3 separate regions of the Homo sapiens genome follow, and regions 1 and 2 are each linked to region 3. The links are contacts of gene promoters, found by promoter capture Hi-C in blood cells and fetal thymus (Javierre and others, 2016). All regions are on one chromosome and are shown on one strand. The core of a region is centred on a gene start or on the middle of the fragment in contact, and the rest is flanking DNA. Distances in the headings are between cores, read along the strand shown. Region 1 overlaps ZNF664-RFLNA (ZNF664-RFLNA readthrough). Region 2 overlaps ZNF664-RFLNA (ZNF664-RFLNA readthrough). Region 3 holds the start of NCOR2 (nuclear receptor corepressor 2).

What was found. Contacts are between HindIII fragments. The CHiCAGO score rates a contact against its expected background, and 5 or more counts as called.
Region 1: a contact is called between a fragment that was not itself captured here and the fragment with the promoter of NCOR2 in region 3, in 5 of 17 cell types (non-activated CD4 T cells, naive CD4 T cells, activated CD4 T cells and 2 more). The highest score is 6.9, in non-activated CD4 T cells.
Region 2: a contact is called between a fragment that was not itself captured here and the fragment with the promoter of NCOR2 in region 3, in 2 of 17 cell types (naive CD8 T cells and fetal thymus). The highest score is 5.4, in naive CD8 T cells.

What each region holds. Positions count from the first base shown.
Region 1 is chr12:123,974,591-123,977,454 of GRCh38, forward strand. The region is part of intron 2 of ZNF664-RFLNA (ZNF664-RFLNA readthrough); the gene reads left to right. The region is part of intron 2 of ZNF664 (zinc finger protein 664); the gene reads left to right. Among named protein-coding and RNA genes, the nearest start is that of ZNF664-RFLNA, 2.8 kb to the left of the region's middle. The HindIII fragment of the contact is 298 bases long and covers 1,232-1,529 here.
Region 2 is chr12:124,007,999-124,010,698 of GRCh38, forward strand. All of the region lies in intron 2 of ZNF664-RFLNA (ZNF664-RFLNA readthrough), which reads left to right. The region is part of intron 3 of ZNF664 (zinc finger protein 664); the gene reads left to right. Among named protein-coding and RNA genes, the nearest start is that of ZNF664-RFLNA, 36 kb to the left of the region's middle. The HindIII fragment of the contact is 5,312 bases long and covers 1-2,700 here.
Region 3 is chr12:124,566,308-124,569,007 of GRCh38, forward strand. It overlaps NCOR2 (nuclear receptor corepressor 2), which reads right to left and starts at 1,305. Exons shown (of 49, transcript NM_006312.6): 1 at 1,001-1,305. RefSeq lists silencers at 51-150, 351-570, 711-820, 841-1,200, 1,311-1,560 and enhancers at 1,681-1,730, 1,897-2,700. The HindIII fragment of the contact is 7,570 bases long and covers 1-2,700 here.

The sequences.
Region 1 (2,864 bases), core at 131-2,630, 590 kb before region 3:
ATCACAGAGATGGCATTTTGTCTTTGACTATCAACCTCTGTCTTCAGGGATGCCGACTATTATGTGTGTGGTGTTTATCCTTCTAGATCTTTTGGAGTACTTTTACGTGTGTGCACTTAACATCATTTTTGACTGCTTTAACAAGGACTGTTGCACCGTAACTTTCAATGTTAGCATGTAATGCTTCAAGTCATTTTTTAACAACTGCTGCACCATGTTCCATAGTTTCAGTATATCATGGTTTAGCCATTTCCCAAATTGATAGCAGTTTAAGTTTTAACTTTAAAACAGCTTTTTTGCTGGTGGTGGTTCTCTGATGAGATGAAATTTCGGTGATAGGAGCACAGATCTACGCTAATTATCGAGATTCGGCATTTATGATGAAGTTCTCTTTTGGTTAAGAAATTGATATGTGGAAGCAGCCACCCCTCCCCTATGGTAGTTCTGACTCTAGCAGTTAGAAGTTGTGTGACCTTGGGGAGGACATTGAATCACACCAAACCTCGGTTTTCTTTTCTGTAAATGGCCTGCTCTGTCTGCTCCATAGAGTTCAGTGATACAGTGCGTATGTGTTGTGGAATGTAAAGTAGTATATATAAAGGTTGGTTTTATTAGCCTTTGTGATCCAAAAATTATTTGCAATATCATTTATATTTTTTGACCAGATGTGTGTGTATCATATCACAGAGCACTACAGATAGTCAACTTTGAATGCTTTTTAATTTGTGACTTTTTAAATTAATTTTTATCAAGTACTGACAATACATTAGTCTTCTTAACAATATTTTGCAAAGCATTTTTTCCTAGGGCTTTCTTTTCTTCCTCTTCATTAAAAAAAAAAAAAAAGAGAGAGAGATAGGGTCTCTTTCTGTTGCCGTGGCTGGAGTGTAGTGGCATGATTCTAGTTCACTGCAGCCTGGGACTCCTGGGCTCAAGTGATCCTTGTGCCTCAGCCTCCCCAGTAGTTAGGAATGACTACAACCATGTGCCACCACACCTGGCTGATTTATTTTATTTTTGTAATGACAGGCTCTTACTATCTTGCCCCAACTGGTCTCAAACTCCTGGCCTAAAGCAGTCCTCCCAAAGTGTTGGGATTACAGGTGTGAGCCACTGTGCCCAGCCCCTAGTGGTTTTACATACCTTAAAAAATAAGGCATATAAATTAGTTGACTGTGAATAAACATATTAGCAAACTGAACACTAGACAATACTCGCACTATAATATTTAAGCTTATTTCCTTAGAGTTGTAAGTTGTACATGTATTTTTCTGTGGCAGCAGCAGATTCAGATTAGCTTTTATGTCCTTCAGGGAAAAGGGATTGTTACTAAATTTGCAGGCTGCATCAGAGTTTTAATATTGAGATTTAATATTTTAATCATTTGAATAATGATTGAATGATGTGATGGGTAACATTTTAAGATGTATGAGATACGATTAGGGGCTTTTTATGTATTTTTCTTTCTTTCAGATATATATGAGTGCCTGTAGTGTGGCCAGCAAAATCAACTTATTTTGTTCTCTTGAAGCTTATGATTTGTGAGGGGGATTGGAATTTAAACACAATCACAACTACACGTATGATCACAAACTGGTATCTGCTGTGAAAGTTAAGAAGCACCTGCTATGAGGGAGTATAAAAAAGGGGAGACCAAATTTTAGAGTGGAGAGAAGGGGCCTAGGAAAGACTTTTCTGTATAAATAAGATTTAAGCTGAGATTTGAAGAGTGCGTAGGTGTTAGTGTGGAGGAAAGTGGGGGATAATTTTCCAGGCAGAGGAACAGCATGTGGGAAGGCCTCAAAGTGGGGAAAAAGCTTTGCCCATTCCAGGAACTGAAAGAATGAATGTGGATAGACTATGGAGGTGAAGGGGAAGAGTGGCTAGGCCAGGGGCCAGATCAAGTAGGGTCATGTAGGGCAGGTTAAAGTGGTTGTATTTTATCCCGAGTGAAATGGGAAACCATGATATGGGTTGGGATTTACGAAGAGGAGTGACATAATCAGATTTGTATCTTTAAACAGCCACTCTAGTCGTTGCATGCAAGATGTGGGGGCGTGTTGGGGGTGGAGAGTAGAAGTGGGGAGACCAGGTTGGCCATCTCAGAGGGCTGCCTGGAAGAGACGTGAGCTTTCCCTTGGAATTCACATTGACCTCACGTTACCAGCTACACTAAGGTCAAATCAATGTTTGATTAAAAAAAAAAAAGATCCTGGCCATGCACAGTGGCTCACACCTGTAATCCCAGCACTTTGGGAGGCAGGTGGATCATGAGGTCAGGAGACCGAGACCATCCTGGCTAACACGGTGAAACCCTGTCTCTACTAAAAATACAAAAAATTAGCTGGGCGTGGTGGCAGGCACCCGTATTCCCAGCTACTCGGGAGGCTGAGGCAGGAGAATGGCGTGAACCCGGGAGGTGGAGCTTGCAGTGAGCGGAGATCATGCCACTGCACTCCAGCCTGGGCAACAGAGGGAGACTGTCTCACAAAACAAACAAAACCCCCACAAATCCTTGTTTCTAATTTTTAAGAAGTGGGGATAAATAAAAGCAATAAAAAGGTACTTGGTATGCAAAAAGTACACATAAATGTTAAACTAGTTGTCTATACTTAAAAGTATCAGAGAGTCAAATTAAAAATTGGGACATTATTTAACAAGGTTTGTATGTTTTGACAAAGCGGTAATATGTGAGATAGGAGTGAAGTGAGGCTCTAAAATGAAGGGAAATATTTGTAGATGCTATTGACTATGAAAACAATAACAAAAATTATTAGACAAAAAAATTGATGGAGTGACCATGTATTAGTATATGTATAAAATTAATAGCTTTCTGAATACCAGAAATAACCTACTAGAACCTA
Region 2 (2,700 bases), core at 90-2,589, 560 kb before region 3:
CCCCGAATCACATTTCCTTGACTGTCCTCTTTTAGCAGCTGGTTTGCTTCAGATTGCAAAGAAGTTCCTCTGATTACATCTGATTGTTATGTCTCAAATCGCTTTCATTTAGAGCAACTCCTCCCACCTTACCGGCTTTTTTTCCCTCGTGTCCTTATTGCAAAAAAAAAGGGGCAGTTGTGCTGTAGAGTGGCTCACCTTTTGATATTTTGCTACTTGCTTCCTAGTAGTTCCTCTGTCCCTTCAGTTCTTTCCATTAAAAATTAGCTCCAGAGGCTTGATTAGGTTTTGCTTCAGTCTTTTGACAAGAATGTCTTCAGAGGGTGCTGGGTGTTTCCCATTGCACCACAGCAGGAGGCACACGTGTCTGGTTGTTCCTCTTTGAGTCATGCTAAGATCGATCCCTGGCTTCAGGTGGTGACAGCCTGGTCCTGGCAGTGTCAAGTCCTGGATCAGCCTTCCAGCCGCTTTTTTCACCCATTGCTTTTCATGGTTTGAATCAGGTGTTTGATGAGGAGAATGCACATATTAGCTGGTTGTTTCTTTGTCTTGAAAGAGAGTTCATAGAGGAAATAGGATAGATGCTTCTCTCCATTTAATTACCAATTTTTAGGGTAAAAAGTTGGGCCCCTAGTTAATTCCAATTTTGTTCAGTGCCTTGGGTCTCTCCATCTCTCTGCCTGCCTGTCTGTCTCTTTCTTCCCCATTCTCTACAGTCATTATGAGCTCCTGGGGTTTGTATATTGAATGCGTCTCACTCAATTGCCTTTCTTATTCCTTTTGATGCTCAGTTGCATGATTGGCTCTGTGTTCCTTTGGCACGGCCCTCTTGCTTTCTGGCATAACAGGATGTCCCAGGCTCATTTTGTAAGTGCTACTCTGGCTTTGAACCCAGCCATTCCTCCAAGGACCCCTTGCCTCTTGGTGGGGAGAGGATTTAAGGGAAGGGGCTGTAGGTGTGCTCATTGCTATCGCTTCTTATTGCTTCCAGGTCTTTTTGGTGATAACTAAAAAGAAAAAAAAGTGAATTCAGACTGATATGTCTAAGTCAAATTTTATATTACAGAATTTTTTCTTAACTTTGATTTTATACTTAAATCTAATTTTTCCTACATTGAATCTTGGCTCCTAACAACTTTAACATAAACTACTTATTTGTATTAACCTACTTTAAAATACACCACAGTAACAGTTAAATTGTTGAAAGAAGTGTGATTTCTTTGCAGCTTATTTGTCAAAAGAATATGTTCTAGGTATGTGCAATCAGTATACTATGCTCAAAAGCCATTTGTGGCTATGTCACCAATATGATAGGTTTATTCTCTTTATTTTGTTTTAACATTCATTTAATTTTATTTTTTAACTATAGAAACATATGTTTCCAGAGTCATGTAACAGTATATTCAGAGAAGTCTTAACTGTATTCTCCCCCATAAGTAATCATTAAATTAAATTCTGGATTATCTTTCACCATGCTTATTTATTTTATTTATTTATTTTATATTTTATATTTTATTTTAGATAGGGTCTCACTCTGTTGCTGAGGCTGGAGTACAGTGGTGCAATCTTGGCTCAATGTAGCCTTGAACTCCCAGGCTCAAGCCATCTTCCTGCCTCAGCTTCCTGAGTAGCTGCGACTACGGGTGTGTGCCACCATGCCTGGCTAACTTTTTAATTTAATTTAATTTAATTTTTTTTGTAGAGACAGGGTCTCCCTATGTTGCCCAGGCTGGTCTCAGACTCCTAGCCTCAAGTGATCCTCCCACCTCGGCCTCCTGGCATGCTGGGATTACAGGCATGAGCCAGTGTGCCAGGCCAGAGTTTATTTTATATATTACCTTCCTTTTTTGCAGAAACGGTAGCATAGAACATATACTATTGTGTACCTTTTTTTTTTTTTTTAACTTAACAGTGTGACCTGGGTTCACTCCATGTCAGTGCACAGTGCTTGTCCTCATTCCTTTTTGTCTTGTGAGGAGGTGCCATACTCGACTCGGCTAGTTCCCTATCGATGGCCTTCGGTTGCTTGCAGTTTTGCTGCCAAATACTGCCTCAGTGAATAACCGGGTATATCAGTCATTTCCTATTTTTACCAATGTGTCTTTAGGATATATTCTAGAATTATTACTAGGACAAAGGATAGATGCAAACATAATTTTTGTAGATATATGACCATTTTTGCCGAAATTTTGGGGACCTAATTGAATTTTGTAATTGTAACACTTTCACCTATAAGCAGTCCAGTTTATTTTACATTTTAACATTACATCTCCTCAAACACCCATGCATGTTCTCTTTGTATGGAACATATTAAAAGTGTTACTTTAAGAAGACCTATTGATTTCATTTAGTTAATTTTAAAGTATCATAGCGTATAGAGTAAAAGAAATGAAAAGATTGCTAAAACATAGTCCTAAACCTTAAAAGATTTCAGAGTGAATATTTTGAGATTTATTTTCTTCTTTTATCTCCTCCTTATTCTATTTGTGGTGTATTTTGTCCCCTGTAGGCTATCAAAGACTGGAAATAAGGCACTAAGAAATGTACCTTTATCTGCTCCACCAGAATGAAGCAGGATATGTGTGTGGGTGCCAGAGGGTGTCCTGAAGTACTCTATAGATTTTCAGAAAATATTCATTGAACACCTCTCATTGCCAGGTTATAACAGAGAGCAACGCACACAGTTCCTCCTTCATGGCA
Region 3 (2,700 bases), core at 55-2,554:
CGACAGGCGGCGGGAGGACACTCGCTTCCAAAAAAATAAACCTACAATGTAAAAATAACGCCGGGCGCCCCACGCTAATTGGGCCCGGGCGACAGCAGCTCCCAGGTACAGCCTGTCTCTCCCTCCCGCCCGCCGTGCCCTCCCGCCCTCGGCTTGCTCCTCCTGCAAGTGTCTGGGGCGGGGAGGGCGTACCCCACGGGTGCCCTCACTCCCCGCAGGCCTCTGAGGAAGCTGCCCTCTAGACAAGGGTCTGGGTCTTCCCAGTCGTGCCCAAGTGGGATCAGCTCTGAATTCCAACTTCGCAAAGTAGTGGCATCCCAAGTATCCGCACAGCCCGGGGGAGGGACTAGGAGGCGGCCCAATGAGGCGTCACCAGCCACGGGAGGCAGGCCCAGACACCAGGAACACCGGCCCGCGGGGGAGGGGGACCAGGGGCGACTCTCCCGAGGGACCCCGCCCAGCGCCCCGTGGCCCCACGCCTAGGAGGGACAAGGCTGGCTCTCCCCCTCGGCTGGTGAGAGACCCTCATGCGCCCCTCCACAACAGCCAGGCCAGGGAGCTAGGGGTACCATCTCCAAGGGCTTTCAAACCCGCGCTGCCCGATGGAAAATAAGGCGCAGTGTCGCCCCGCCAGGTCCGGGGCTACACCGGGTACAAGGGACGCCTGGCGGCCAAGTCCCCAGAGCCGGCGCACACTGTGGGGGGCCGCTCTGTGCATTTCCAGCGCGCCCCCCGCCCACCCCAACGCCACTTCCCTCCTTCCCGCCCCCTCGCTAGGGAGCTGGAGTTCCCCTAAGTTCCCCGGCGCCCCCGAGCACGCGGGCCGCAGTGTCGGCGGGGCGCCTTGCTCCCCAGCAGGCCACCCCCCGAGAGCGCCAACTCGGGAGTGCAGGGGCCCCGCCAACTCCGCCGCGTGCGCCGCCCGATCCTCCCCGGATCCCCCGGAAGCGCGCTCCGCGCCTCCCCCCGCCCTTCGCGGGGACCCTCGGCCCCAACTCACCTCGCGGAGGTGGCAGCGGTGGCGCCCGGGCTTGGGGCGCGCTCGGGCCGCCGGGGCGCTCAGGCAAGTGGCGGTGCCGATCGGGCTGGGGGCGCGCAGCAGGCCCGGCCTCGGGTCGGGACGCGATCCTCCCGCCGCCGCCTCCTAGGGCGCCGGCCCTGGGTCCCCGGCCCGCAAGTTGGCGCGCATCGCGGAGCGCAGGGCGCGGGCGCAGGGCTCGGGCGGGGCGCCGGCGGACGCGGGGCTCCGGTGCGGCCCGGCCTGCCCGCGGCTCCGCGCTCCCCGGCGGCCGCGGCGGCGGTGGCGGCGGCGGCGGCGGCGGCGGCGGCGGGAGGGGGAGGAGGGGGCGGGGCGCGAGCCCGGGAGGCGGTGGCTCGGCCTCCCTGCTCCCGGCTCCCCGCCCGCAGCGACGCGCCCCGGCCCGGCCCCCTCTGGCTCCTTAAAGGGCCCGCGCCTTCTCTCCAGGCCCTGCGCGTCCCCACTCGCGCGCGCACGCCGCCACACACACAGACACGCACGCACACACTTGGGCGCGACGCCGAGTTTCTTTTTGGCAGCTCCCCGAGGAGGAAGGAGGGGGGAAGCGCCTCCCAGCCTTCCCCTCCCTCTTCTCCTGCGGGCCCGGGGGCCCTCCTCCTCCTCTCCAGCCCCAGTACCTCACTGGAATCGCGTTTCAGCTATTAAATTATAACTCTGGAGTGGCCGCTGGATGGGGAGGGGGCGCGCAGGGAGGGCCCTACACAGGGCCTTTTAGGAGCACGCCCAGTGGGGCACTTGGGGACGGGAGCAGACAGTAGCGCAGAGCCCTCTCCAGGCAGGAACACGCTGGGCCTCCCCAGACCCGAGACCCAGCCCGGGCGAACACACTGCAGACTCACCACCCACCACGGACCGGAGATGTCAGATCTCACACAGACAAATACTGGGACACCCACGCGAGTTCACAGCACCCCGGAGGACACAGACGCTAGAATGCCAGTTTCCTGAGGGCAGAGATTTCTATTTTGTTCACTGCCCTATCGCAGTAGGGACTCACGAATGTGTTGAGTGAAGTCCCACTTGGGGACATTCAGGGACACAAATGCGGAGACAATGCAACGAGCCTGTGTCCCCCCCGCCCCCCCCACACACACACACAGACACACACATCCCAAAGCGTGACCCTGGGAGCCACACACGCCCGGCCTGCACAAGCACGCAGTCACAGACGGCACACATGTGCTCGCTCCCCCACGCACAGGCAGACACTCTCCGCTCCAGCAGGAACCTGGCCCCCCTGGCCGCCCTGACAACCCAGTGTCCTCATTTACCCCCTCCTCCCACCCCCTCCAGGTTTGCCCTCTCCAACCAGGGCAGATCTCTTTGAACAGCAGAGGGCACTGGGAGCCCTGGGCCTGGAGCCTCCCTCCCTCCCTCCTCTTCTGCTTTCTCCTAAGATGTTGGAGAGTTTGAATTTTTTTTTTTTTTTTCAGTTCAACTTTCCTTTTTTGGAGTGACGTCTCAGCAGATTCAGTTCTGCCATCTGGCAACATCTGAGAACCCCCAGGGAGAGCGGGGAATGGCTGCGGTGGGGAGGCAGCCGCGTGGTTTCCAGAGGCCGGCGGGCCTCCCGCCTCCGCCAGGATGCTGGGTTTGCCGGGCTCCCCTGCAGCCAGGTCCTTCTCTGCCCCCTCGGGCTTTTAATTATGAGCTTTTGGGGG